Linked DNA regions of Homo sapiens: regions 1 and 2 are each linked to region 3. Evidence: promoter capture Hi-C in human tissues and cell types (Jung and others, 2019). All regions are on one chromosome and are shown on one strand. Each heading gives the region's core, a stretch centred on a gene start or on the middle of the fragment in contact. The rest is flanking DNA. Distances are from core to core; before and after follow the strand shown.

The links. Contacts are between HindIII fragments. The study calls those that stand out against the background at their distance.
Region 1: a fragment that was not itself captured here is called in contact with the fragment with the promoter of LURAP1L in region 3 in 1 of the 25 tissues and cell types used here (dorsolateral prefrontal cortex).
Region 2: a contact is called between a fragment that was not itself captured here and the fragment with the promoter of LURAP1L in region 3, in 1 of the 25 tissues and cell types used here (dorsolateral prefrontal cortex).

What each region holds. Positions count from the first base shown.
Region 1 is chr9:14,213,813-14,218,437 of GRCh38, forward strand. All of the region lies in intron 2 of NFIB (nuclear factor I B), which reads right to left. Among named protein-coding and RNA genes, the nearest start is that of NFIB, 98 kb to the right of the region's middle. The HindIII fragment of the contact is 4,207 bases long and covers 829-4,625 here.
Region 2 is chr9:14,352,161-14,356,513 of GRCh38, forward strand. All of the region lies in intron 1 of NFIB-AS1 (NFIB antisense RNA 1), which reads left to right. It also overlaps a transcript of NFIB not described here. Among named protein-coding and RNA genes, the nearest start is that of NFIB-AS1, 37 kb to the left of the region's middle. RefSeq lists an enhancer at 3,622-4,121. The HindIII fragment of the contact is 7,273 bases long and covers 1-4,353 here.
Region 3 is chr9:12,773,611-12,777,787 of GRCh38, forward strand. It overlaps LURAP1L (leucine rich adaptor protein 1 like), which reads left to right and starts at 1,410. Exons shown (of 2, transcript NM_203403.2): 1 at 1,410-2,417. The coding sequence starts at 2,106. All of the region lies in intron 2 of LURAP1L-AS1 (LURAP1L antisense RNA 1), which reads right to left. The HindIII fragment of the contact is 5,707 bases long and covers 1-1,986 here.

The DNA.
Region 1 (4,625 bases), core at 1,682-4,181, 1.4 Mb after region 3:
ATCTGTGCTCTTAGGAAAATGTGTTCCCTGTGTCCTAAAACTGTAAGGAACTGTTATCACATGCTTCCTTGCCTCTGTTCTCAACATTCCAGAAGTGGTTTGTAAACATACCCCCAACTCCCACTGCTCCAAATTTAAGGGGGGAAGAGTCCCCTCATTTCACCTCACATCATTTTACTTAAGAATCGATGCCACCTTCGGGCTATGCATCAGGTCTCGTTTCCAATATTTCTAGCAGAGCCCTCCTCAACCCTTCTTTATTACTCCCCACTCTGCTCCCCAAATAGGCCACATCCTAGCCCCCCATTAATTCCCCTTCCTGAAGAAGCGACAGAGATAAGGAAAGCCCAAAGAGAGAACCTGCACTTCTCTGAGCACATCCCTGAATGAGGCACCAACTTCCCCTTCCCCACCAGCCTGCTCTTCTCCTCACAGGTCCTGAGCATGCTCAAGGATCTCAAAGCACACAGGGCCAGTGTCAGGAGCATGGACCCATGCAGTCACATAGAGCCCCACTTACGTGGTCCCCATGCTTGGCTTCATGCTCTTCTGTCACCATCTTGAAACTCTTAATTTTTGAACAAGAGGCCCACACATTAGGGAGCTGGTCCTGAAGGCAAATTATGGAACTGGATACATCTCAGCTCCTCAGCAAGCACACATTACCACATCCCATTTTCACCCACACTATCTCAGCAGCACAGCTCCCAGCAGCCTAACAGAAAAGTCACGCTTTCCTCTAAGAAACTGCCATACTTCCTTCCTTCAGAGTAAAACAAAATCATATTATGGATTGTATCATGCTTTTTACATAACTACCAGGAAACTTTTTAAACACATGATGCTAATTTAGCAGCCAACATTTTTGAACTTCATGGTCTATAAATTTGTACTGTTTCCCATATTTTCAGTCTCTGTTTCTATTTTCTTGGTCCTGACTCTCTTTTCCATTGGAAATTCATCATTTATTTTACTGAATATGAATATCCTGCTGAGAGCTGTTTATCCCACAGTCCAGTACACACAGGAAGGAGGCACACACAGTGCAGAGAGCCATCCTATACAATTGGAATTTAAAGAGATCTGACTTCATAAAGTACGTGTATACACATGCATACCTATGCTTCCATGCCCATTAAGAAAATGTGGAAACAAGAAATTTAGGCTTGGGAGCAACGGCCAAAGGAGAAACAAGGAGAAGGAAGAGATTTACTTTTCACTTTTACCTGTATATAGTATTTAATTATTTTCTGTAAGTATATTACTTATAATTTTTCAAAGTAAATAGCTCAGTAAAATGATCTTCTGTCAAGCTCAACAATTGGGTGCTTAGCAGAGCAAGAAATGGAAAAATAATGGCTAAAGCAGCTTTTACGTAATCTCCAAAGACATCAACTTTCACATCAGTTTCTCATAGACTGTCCAGCATATTGGAACCGAAGAAAAAGAGCAGGCATAAATACTCAGAACAATAAACTTGAAAAATGTAACCTCTGGTATACATTTAATGGTATTAAATGAAAAGCAGTGAAAATGAAAACCTTAAACATCTGCATATACTAAGACTATGTTAAGAAGAAACGATTATTAAAAGTTAACTAATAAATAAGTAAAAGTTTGAGTATTTGGGGGTGAAAAATTGTCAGAAAGCAAATGTGTAAAAAGATATATGGTCCTGAAAATCCTCGCTTATTCTAAATTTAAAATGCACCTTGATTCTATTGCAAAGAAAGTTGAAAGTATGTCATCAAAAAGTCATTTAAAAAAACTACTACTTAAAAAGTGATCAGATAATTTACAAAGATTATTCTCAAGAAGTCAGATAAAGATAAAGATGCCCCATTTGTTAACAGTACTTTTTGTTCTTCTGGATAATGTACTGAAAACCAGTCTAGCTTCCTATGGTATGCATAACTTCCTCTGTAATACTCCAATTGTATTACCAAAAGCAAACATTACTTTTGTTATCAAAGCAAATTTAATAAAGAATTTTCAACTATCTTGCCCACTCACTTGCTTTGTAATTCAGATAAATGACTCAACATCTCCAAGCTTCTTTCATCATCTTGTAAAAGGCAAATAGCAATCTCTCCCAAGCAGCACTGTACTGAGAATTAACTGAATTGCTTTATGTAAATTCTCAGCACGATACCTTGTTCATGGGGGGTGGGCAATAAATAGGAGGTATCATCATCATCACTCTTGGTAATGACGATAAAGCTGGTATATTTTCAATTCTATTGCATACAGTAGAATTTAAATTTAGTCAAAAATAATGTTCAATATTAAGAAATAACAGACTTCATCTTCATAACAAAAGATAGGTTGGCAATGGCTACCTTAGAAGCTACCTAATTGCCTGGTCACAATTTTTTCTTTGTGTACTTTCCTAAAATAAATTTAATGAATAACAAACTATATAAATAATTTTAACTGATAATCATGTGCAAAGAAATACAATTTGGCACTCAGGCTGAGCTTATCCCACTGGAAAGGTGTGCATTAACATGGTGGCATGTATTCGTTTTTCAAGTCACTTTACTGGCCACTATTAAGTCTCTGTGTGGATGAAGTAGAAACTAAAAAAGGTCTGGTTTGAGAAAGGCCGGAAGCAGGAGGCAAGTGGGCTCTGCCAAGGTGCATCTGTATCCACAGGTAAGAAGGAAGGTTCTCCATTCTTTCTCTCTCTCTCTCTCTCTCTCTCTCTCTCTCTCTCTCTCTCTCTCTCTCCCTCTGTGTGTGTGTGTGTGTGTGTGTGTGTGTGTGTGTGTGTGTGTGTAGCATTGACAAGGGGGTAAGCCCCTACAAAAGAGAGTGAACCTCAGAAGAGAGATGCTGGAGAGACGCTGTGTCCTCCAAAGGACTCATGTCACCACAGTCACCATACCCAGGTCAGGTCTACCTAACAGCCACTTCAATTCCATCTTTCTCATGTGACACTTAAGGCTATGCTGACTTTGCCAAAATTGCTTTCAGCCAAATTTTCTAAAAGAAAGGAAAATAAGCATACTTTTCTGATGAAAACTGTTGTCAGACAGGCCTGTAACTAAAGCCATTTCATACAGAATATCCTGGCCAATGTTTAGCACATGGTGCTTTACACTGAAAACTTTAAAAGCTAGAACAGCTATCCATATCCATCTTCTAAAATAATGTTGTAACAGCATTAGTAAATGGTGAATAATGTTTGAACAGTGTCTACTAGGAAGGACTTAATGAAATAAAGTGGAAGATATGTGAAATGACTAACATTTGAATTCATAAGGATGTTATGCCCCAAAACCTTATTTTTGGTATCAAGGTGGCCATTTTGATTAATTTCCTGATGATACTTAAGAAAGAATAACATTAATTTCTAAAGCTTCCAGATAATAACTTTTTCCCAGGTTACAGCTTTTATATATGTTATATGCAACTCACACTAATTCACACTTAACAGCAGATAGAATCTAAATTAGATCTTCTTATAAATTATTTCCAGAATGGGCAAGAGCAACCAAAAGATAAGATATACATTATCTAATTATTCAATAATGCTAGGAAATTCTTTTAAAATATACAAACTAGGCTGGGCGCGGTGGCTCACGTCTGTAATCCCAGCATTTTGGGAGGCCAAGGTGGGTGGATCACCTGAGGTCAAGAGTTCAAGACCAGCCTGACCAACATGGAGAAACCTTGTGTCTACTAAAAATACAAAATTGGCTGGGCGTGGTGGCGCATGCCTGTAATCCCAGCTACTTGGGAGGCTGAGGCAGGAGAATCACTTGAACCCAGGAAGTGGAGGTTGCGGTGAGCCGAGATTGCAACATTGCATGCCAGCCTGGGCAACAAGAGTGAAACTCCATCTCAAAAAAAAAAAAAAAAAAAAAGACACAAACTAAGCAAACTCTAAATTTATATTATTTTGGAAGACTCATCAAAAATCCTGCTCCAAACACTCATATTGCTAATTATCTCATTCAAGATATTACTTCACCATGTCAATATTGATTTATTATTTTATACTTTGTTTCTTTCCCCCAAAAGACATGAGAACACTTACAAAAAATACTCCTGCCACTGAGATAAAATAGATAGGTAAGTAAATCTGGGTTAAGTCAGAATGAAGGTAAGAAAGTAAATATATATGGGCAGTGGTAGAGCACAAAAATGTAAGCTTTTAGGTCCCTGATCCTTTGCCAGTAAAGCTGTACTTTCCATCCCAGGCTCAGTTTCTTCCGTGTTTGCTGGGAGTTCCTGTATTACTCTGTAGATTTCATCGAACTTTTAAGAAGGCAGTGGTTGCTTTGCCTAGCAAGGGAATAAGAATAATGAGCTGAGAGCTCCAAGGTGGTATTTGGAAGGCATACTTTTTCCCAGAGGAAAAATACTGAAGAAAAAGGCCAGTTGTACAGGAAATAGGGACAGACATTATCACCATATTGAAGCCAAATAGAAAATAAAATGATTTTTTTTAAGTTTAAAATTCTTTTGTTTCCATGATATACTCAAGAGTCTGACTCCAAATAACAACCTCAAAACCTTGTTTCTGTTTTCAGTGCCTTCCTGAACTAAGTGTTTTCCCTCAAGTAGCACCAATAAAACCCAGATTCCACCCACTGGCATTCTGTCTAAGCCAACACAGC
Region 2 (4,353 bases), core at 161-2,660, 1.6 Mb after region 3:
ACATGCGTAAATCCAGATACTTCAAATAATAGAAAACAGCATAAAATGAAAGTAAAAGTCTCCTACCCTGCTCCGTCTCCTGGAATTACACTGATTTTTTCATTTTTTTTTGGTGATGTATTTGTATATATAATAGATGTTATCATTATTTTATGAGTGTGGAGTTGGGAGGCTCACCACCAAGATAACAAACCATGGCTACCTGTCTCCGGGCTCAGCACTTCCCGGTACTCTACATTAGCTAAGATGAACGTGGAAATAAAGAAGTGAGCGAGGCCACAGGTAAAAAGAAGAGTCGGGTCAGAATTGACATCACCGCTTCTTTTGCACTGTTCCTCCTGCCCCTGCCTGGCTCCTGAGACCACAGGCTCCCTCAGTGTATGTAATCTGATGATCTTCTATGGTGGCTGCATTTCTTCCAGGCCTTGGTGCAATTGGACAAGCAAGTGTTTCCATGCTCTGTCACCCGGGCCCTCAGTGCTGTTTCTACGCTGTACTAGGTCTGGTCCTGAGGCAAGCCTCTAAGCTTTAGATTTCACTGCTTATCTCTCAGCGTTGTTGAGAGGCTCCAATAACAGACAGGGAAAGGACTGTGTAAACTTGGAATCTCTCTATGTAAACATACAGCTGCTTTTCAAAGGCCTGCATAGGAAGGACCCTGTAGCCTTTCCCTCTGGAACAGAGGAGTTTCAGGAGTCTTTGTGAAAGAGTACGTTTTTGACATCTGAGGGTTTGCATTGTGTCCGTTTGTGTCTATAGGGGCAGGGTTAGGAGTATGTCTTAAAGTAGAAGAGGATGCTCATTTATTACTGAATCTTTGGAATCAGGAGACTTTGGCAAGGGTCAAGTGGATTTCTTTCTGCTGGAGGGCACACAGAGGCAAGCTGGTGGGGTTACAAGGAGGCAGTTATCCTGCTTGGGGTGCACCATGGGTTGGTGAGAATGGCAGAGGTATGGTGAAGGTGCTGCAGCCTGTCCCTTTGGGTAGGTAGCTACTACCAAAGGCTGTCCTTAGACTGTAGGGGCAGACAGAGGGTGGTGAGGGATAGGTCCAGGCCGCGTGAGCTTCCCAGACATGTTATTTAATTTGTGATTGTTTTTGTGCGTGGAAAGGGGAGGGATATTAGAGGATAGATGTGACAGTTCTTCTGGGAAGCTGGTCCTGTTCTATAGGGTTCTTCATTCAGGAAGAATAGCCAAAAACATCCTGAGTTCAGAGGCCTGCAAGTGAGAACAAATGGTGGACCACTGCTAGGGTGTCCTTGGCAGAGCGGGGGAGCTCCTGGAGAGGGGTCTCTGAACTGCTGCATCCCTGCACCCTGAGAATCTGAGCATGAGGAGGAAGCAGAAAATGGCTTTAAGGCGAATGAAGGGGGCTGGGGAGTGGGCTGGTTCCAATGAGAGAAACTGAAAGGAGGGAAGTCAGATTTTTCTTGACGGCCCAGTCTGGCTTCATTCTTCAATACCTGTCAGGACAAAGGCTGCTGCGCCCCCTGGTGTCCGACTGGCCGCCGATGCCTGCGAGCTGACGTGGAGACCCGCAGGCGGTGAGACCCGGGGACCAGCTGGAGGAGTCCACGGGTCAGATGCCTTTTCTTCCATTTGCTAAGGGAGTTGAAGTTGAAATAGCCGTTGCTTTGTCCGTTCTAGAGTCCAAATAGAGACTCTAGTGGAGAGCGAGAGGGGTTTTGTCTTTTTTTTTTTTTTTTTTTGCATGCAATTGAGGCTGACAGGACAATGCCTGTTTAGAAGTAGCCTGGTGCAGTGGAAAGTACGCTCATCTGAAAGAAAAGACCTGCATTTTAGGTGGAGAGCTGATCTGGGGCAAATCACTTAAAATGTTCCAACCTCCCCTTCCTTCTCTAAAAACCAAAGGGGTTACAGTAAGATGTCTGTAAGGTGTTGTCTGAACTCTAATGTTGATTGGGATTGATTAAATCACTAATACACCGCACCCTATTTTCTCAGAGCCTTGCAAATTTGACATTATTTTTTCAATCTACAGGCAGGTGCAAATGTTATGTTTCAGCATCATGAGTTCCCTAATTGTGAGCAAAGATTTTAGTGTCTCCTTTCCTTTTAAAAATAAAAAAATAGCTCTTTTGAGCACAGAACCTCCCTCACCACCACCTTTTGTGGAGCCTCCTGCAAGAAAGCTGCAGAGTGAACAGGGCTTCAGTCTCTGCTCTGTTTCTTTTAAAAATAAAGTACTAAAGTATTGTGCTGGAAATTCTGCTACTAAGTGTTACATGTGGTAGGTGTGAATATATGCTTCAATAGTTCCAGGCACAAGACCAAAATCTTCCCCAGAATTAGCAGAGTTTTCAGCTATAATCTGGCTAACATTTTTCTACAAATAGGTACAAAGACCAATTTGAGAGTACGGTCTCTCTAAGGGGCTACATGGTTGGGTTTCCATTGAAATTTAGGGCCATCCCTTGTACAGTCAGGTGAATTTTTAAGTGGGATCAGCCCTGGGGAATAATTATGTAGTCGCTGAGGGTTTTTCTCTCCTAAAATCTCCAAATCTAGTTTCTGAGGTGAGCAGTCAGTTATACCTCATGGCAATTTTTTCCTTCAGCATTGCATTTAAATGGTTATCTCTATGTAATGGGTACTCTGTGTGTGTGTGTGTGTGTGTGTGTGTGTGTGTGTGTAGAAATGGATTGTCCCGTGAAGGATCACTTGAACAGCAACCTTAGCTTTACAGATGTGAAGGGAGTGTGTAGCCCTTGTCCTGTTGTGAACACTGTCACTATTCCTTGTGCGGCAGGGGAGGAGCAGGTCTCTCTAAATGAGAGAAGCGAACCAGAGGAAGAACAGCAGCACAAATGAGATGACCTATAGCAACCGACCCCTGCTTCAGGGATGGGGAGATGCTGTGTGTGTGTGAGCATGTTTGGGTTGGAGTAAGCACAGTGACTTGGAACACTGCACCCCTCCCCAAAGGGAAAAGCTGTGTTACAGGCTGAACTGTGCCACTCCAAAATCACCCTTGATACCTCAGAATGTGACTGTATTTGGAGATAGGGCCTTTAAGGGGGTACTTAAGTTATTATGAAGTGGGCCCTAATCCAGTATGACTGGTGGAGTCCCTGTAAGAAGTGATTAGGACACAGACATGTATAGAGGGAAGACCATATGAAGACGGAGTAGGTAGCCATCTACAAAGAAAGAGGCCTCGGAAGAAACCAACCCTGCTGACAACTTGATCTCAGACTTGAGCCCCTAGAATTGTGAGAAAATAAATTTCTGCTGTTTAAGCCACCCAATCTGCAGTATTTTGTAATGGCAAGCGCAGCAAACCAATACAACAAGATGATACTCTGCACCAGCCCATTATGTACAGCCATTTGGAGATGCAGACCCAGGGTTACCAGATTCTCTATTTGAAGAATCTTTTGCTTTTTAAATATTGGCAGCAGGGCTGGCTTCCTGGGTGTGTGTCCTTTGCAGTCACACGGGATCCCATACTTAGAAGTGCCCCACGTTGGCTTAAATACCCTGCTTGCCTGGCCGGCTGCAGTGGCTCACGCCTGTAATCCCAACACTCTGGGAGGCCGAGGCAGGTGGATCACAAGGTCAGGAGTTCGAGACCATCCTGCCTAACACGGTGAAACCCTGTCTCTACTAAAAATACAAAGAAATTAGCCAGTCGTGGTGGCGGGTGCCTGTAGTCCCAGCTACTCCGGAGGCTGAGGCAGGAGAATGGCATGAACCCGGGAGGCGGAGCTTGCAGTGAGCTGAGATCACGCCACTGCACTGCAGCCTGGGTGACAGAGCGAGACTCCGCCTCAAACAAACAAACAAATAAAAAAAAAAAAAAAAGGCCAATTTGCAATTCTTAAACTTTCAACAACGGGCTTGCATTTTTGCATTGCACTGGTCCCTCACAAACTGTGTGGCCAGTGCTAGCTGACAACTAGTACACGTTTTAAATAATGTGCATATTAAGATTATGGGGTCCCAAACAAAATATGCCTGAGGCTGGGGCAGCGTGAGACACTAGTACGCACTTTTTGTCACTAACTGGATTAAAACTTCCCATTCTCTGGTAGTCACTAGGAGGGAACTTATGGATCCCAGAGGTTTTCTTGAAGTGGGAAAAAGAAAGGCACAGATACTCCCCAGGATGTTATTTCCCAAGATTCCACATGAGCTAGTGTGGCTCGGACCAAGATTTTCTTTTCCCAGGGATGGATACTGAGGATTTCACAATAAGAATATCTTGAGAAAAGGCCCCACACGAGGAACTAGTGTTTGGGGTTGAGGGCTAAGTTTAGCCCTGCATGTGGCTGATGCTGGTGGGCTTTGGGAAGCTGGAGCTGAATATGCTACCCAGAATGGTCAGCA
Region 3 (4,177 bases), core at 160-2,659:
TTTGTTTTTTACTGACCAATTTCTAGCTAGATATTTCATCTATAAACTGCACTTAGCCAGCCTTATGCTGAACTTTGTAAGGGTTTTGTAATAATAAACTGTTCTTGACTGAAACACAAGCCTTTCATAATTACATGCCACAGTGCAATTCTTATGCAACGAGCTTGTGTTTTTCCAAATTTAGGACCAAGCATGTAGTTTTATCAGTTAGCTGGGATTTGGTCTTGTTTTCCCTTGATTCTGTAAGTGGTAGTTCTAACTTTGAAATGGGTCATCTAACTTATAACTATTTTCTTCATTTCTTTTTAAAAGGGAGAAATAGCATGCAAATTTCTGGCATGTTGATAGAAAGTTCAGCATTTTTTCCCTGACATGAAATATTTCATTTAGAATGCGTATGTTTCCTCTACGTATAAGGTTTCCTAGAGTCAGATATGATAAAAACAAACTCTGAGATGTATATACCTATGTTCCTACAAGTGTAAAACCTGAATGATGTCTCTGGAAATGGAGCCTCGGAGTGACCAGGAACACAAATACTTATATGTCACAGAAATAGAGGGGCACATACTTTGAAATATTTCAATGGAAATCAAAAATTGTAGTTTACTGGATTGAAATTAGTATCCTCTACTTAAACATTTTTGACACAAACTCAATGCTGATTCAGATCTGTAATCCATGTAGCTCATAATAACTTACTTGGTAGAAGTATTTCAGATTAATGAATTGTACAATTGTACAAATTAATAAATTGTACAATTGTTCAACTATACAATTAATTGTACAATTTGTATAGTTGAAAAAATCTATAAATTAATTTATAGATAAATTATCAAAGAAGACAACATTTTAAATAGTTATTCCCAATATTTTTTCTTCCATAATTAAAATAAAAGTAAGTATCTCAGCAATTGCTTGTTCTTAAAATTTCACTGCTATCTCAGCAGTCATGTAAGTTATTCTGGCTATTTAATTTTTCACTTTTGTTTGCATACTGTAACAGTTGGTAGGATAATTAATTTTGATTGTACATTTCCATTGAACTTTTGATGAAATTGTTTCACTCTTTTTATTAGAATAAAATTATTAGGAAAGTCTTCTAAAGAGAGGTTTTCTGTTTGTTTTTCCTTTGAGGAAGGTAGAGAGATGGGAAACGAAGACACCAAATATAAAGTCATTCCTCTATCTCTCATTTTAAAACCTGTTTTAAAGGTTGTAGCTAGTCAGGAAAACTGAAAAATCAACTGGTATTCCTAACTAAAGCAGGGCTTTGAAACTCTGCTACTAGCGACAGGGTTGGGAAAATTCCGGTTGCTCTTCTTGTCTGTGATATACGGTAGAAGGGTTGGTCCTGGTTTGGTCCACCTGCCAGCGGAGTTTAAAGTTTCCGAGGCTCAGAGGAACACAATGACTTGGATCAAACAGCCTAAATGGGAAGAAGGACATTTTTGCTGCATCAAGGAAGCCGTTAAACTCCTGCTAAGCTAACTAGCTCTTTTTTATGGGTCCATGCACACGACCGAACTCCTCTTTCACTGACCAGAGATTATTTCTGACAACCCAGGATATCCCGAAAGCTTGGAGGCATATGGCTGGAAAATGAAACGACCCAGGACATCGTTTCTGGCTGCATCATTATTTTGTGTCGCGTAGTACCAGATGGGCAGTCAGTGAGCGGCGCAGGGATGTGAACGGACGGTTTTATAATGTGAAAATTTTCCCTTGGTAAAGCTAAAACAGATTTAATTTCCCTCTCTTTTCTTTCACTACTTCCCCCTCTTTATTCCCCCTCTGTCTGCAATATCAGTGAACTCAACTTTGCAGTGAGGTGGCCAAAAAGAGAGAGAATGAGGAGATCTTGATCATCTTAGTGTCGGAGGAGTCGCAGCGGACTGGGAACTGCAGCTGCGACCCCCCGCGTCCTGTGCGGATTTCAGGGCTGATACCGCATAGGCGGTTATGGAAAGGACGGTACACCGGAGCGGCGGAGGATAGAGACCCTGGCCCCCGGAGAGGTCTGCTGATTTCGCAGCAGCCTTCGAAGCCGTGGCTGCCTTTCATCTGCTGCGTTTTATTACTATTATCGCCGTTCCGGAAAAGTCATGGAAGACAGCCCGCTGCCAGACCTCAGAGACATCGAGCTGAAGCTGGGGCGCAAAGTACCCGAGAGTCTAGTGCGCTCTCTCCGTGGGGAGGAGCCGGTTCCCAGGGAAAGGGACAGGGACCCCTGCGGGGGGAGCGGTGGTGGTGGCGGCGGCGGCGGCGGCTGCAGTAGCAGCAGCAGCTACTGCAGCTTCCCTCCCTCCTTGTCGTCCTCCTCTTCGTCCTCCCCAACCTCTGGCTCCCCACGAGGTAGCCACTCTAGCGCCCTGGAGAGGCTAGAAACCAAGCTTCACCTCCTCAGGCAAGAGATGGTGAGTGTGGTGCGCCAGCCGCGGGGGCTGGGACCTGGGCTGGGCCAAAAGATGGGGCGATCTGAGAATGGGGCTGGGAGAGAGGACGGCAGGGGCTGCAGAGCGGAGCGCTGGGCGCGTGGGAAATGCTGGGTGGAGGAATGAGCAGGGGGCGCTCATCCGGAGGCAGCTGCTGCGAGGCTTGTTTACCGCGGACTTTGCTCGGTCACGGTTTGCAAAGACAGCACAGTCGGCTGGCTCCACTCTGTGTACTTTCGGACAACGCGACTCACTGCGCCGGGCTCTATTTAGCTGCCAGCCCGTAGCCTCTTAGGCACCAGCCCGTTGAGAGTTTGCAGTTATTGCACCCATCTAAGGCCTGCTGTGCGCTGTTAACACTTCGGGTAGGTTCAAAAGGTGGCTCAGTCCAATGCACTTACTGCAAAAATACTTCCTGGTTTGCCGGGAGGTGGCGTGGCAGGGTCCTTGCAGCCTTTCCTCCTAGCTCACCCTTCCACCAGTACCGCTCCGCCCTCCTGCCCTCCCTTCTTGGTGCAGCAGCCGCAGCTGTTCCAAGGCCACTGTCGAGCAGATTCTCCACAGCTGGTTCTGAAAACAATGGCCTACTCGTCCTTGATGTACTTATGAATAGCTTGTTTCACTATTTTGATCCCAGGGAGCAGGTGATCCCCAGGCCCAGGGATCTGCTAAGGACCATCTCCCACCCTTCTCCCTCAAGTCTCAATCTGCAGTTGTTTTCCCTGCTGTTTGCAAACGTTTGCCTGAGCATAGGACAATGAGATAAGTACAAGGTCTAGGAATACTCATTCTGGAAGTATTTAGACTAAGACACTATTTACTTGCCATGAGCTCTTGGGCACGTCACTTCACTTCTGTAGACCTCTGTGAATTTGATGAGCTGGTTAGAGAAAATGATCCCTCCCTAAGTCCTTTGAAAAAAACGACCACAAAGCAACAGCATTTTCTACTAGCTTGGAGATAAGGAAAGTTGCAACAGTGGGCCTCAAAAAGAGAAAATAATTTCATTAAATTAACTTCACAGTTGCTTTTGATTTGCTTCAAAGTAGGCTAGGAGATTTCTATCACTCCGACAGGAATGCTGGAAATTATTTCTATCATTCTATCGTTTAGTTATTATAGAGTTCTATCATTTAGTGATTGTTATTTTTTAGGTTGGACAAAAATTTAAGGACAACCCTTAGGTACATAATGGAGAAGCTGGAAAGTGGAAGTCATCTTGATGAGTTTGCAAAATAGATGAAAAGATAAAATGGAAAAGATGACAAACCAACAGGTCAGGGGATGCCTGATACCGTATCACAAAGATCAGACATACGTGTGGAGACTAACAGGTAAAACTATTTTCCACAAGAAAATTTCTTGTACAAGGAATTAAGAATGTTGCTAACTCTGCAAATTAAGGACTTAATATGAGGGACGAAGACATCAAGGAGATGAGGAAATTTTATTCCTAACCATGTCTTCTGTAATTTTACCCATGGAATGTTAATATATTCACTTAATCTAATAAATAAATCTTGTTGAAACATATTTTCTTTCTCAGTAGCTCACTGATAGCACATCAAAGATAATACTGTCATTTTGCTGGACACTCAGACACAATTTAGAGTATTTATATATAACTTGAAAACAGTAACATTTCCAAAAACCGATGAACCCCACCCTGTCCCAAGGAATGATTGGTATGTATGTGAAGATCATTTTCTGACAAAAATAATTACGTTCCACTTAGGATGCAC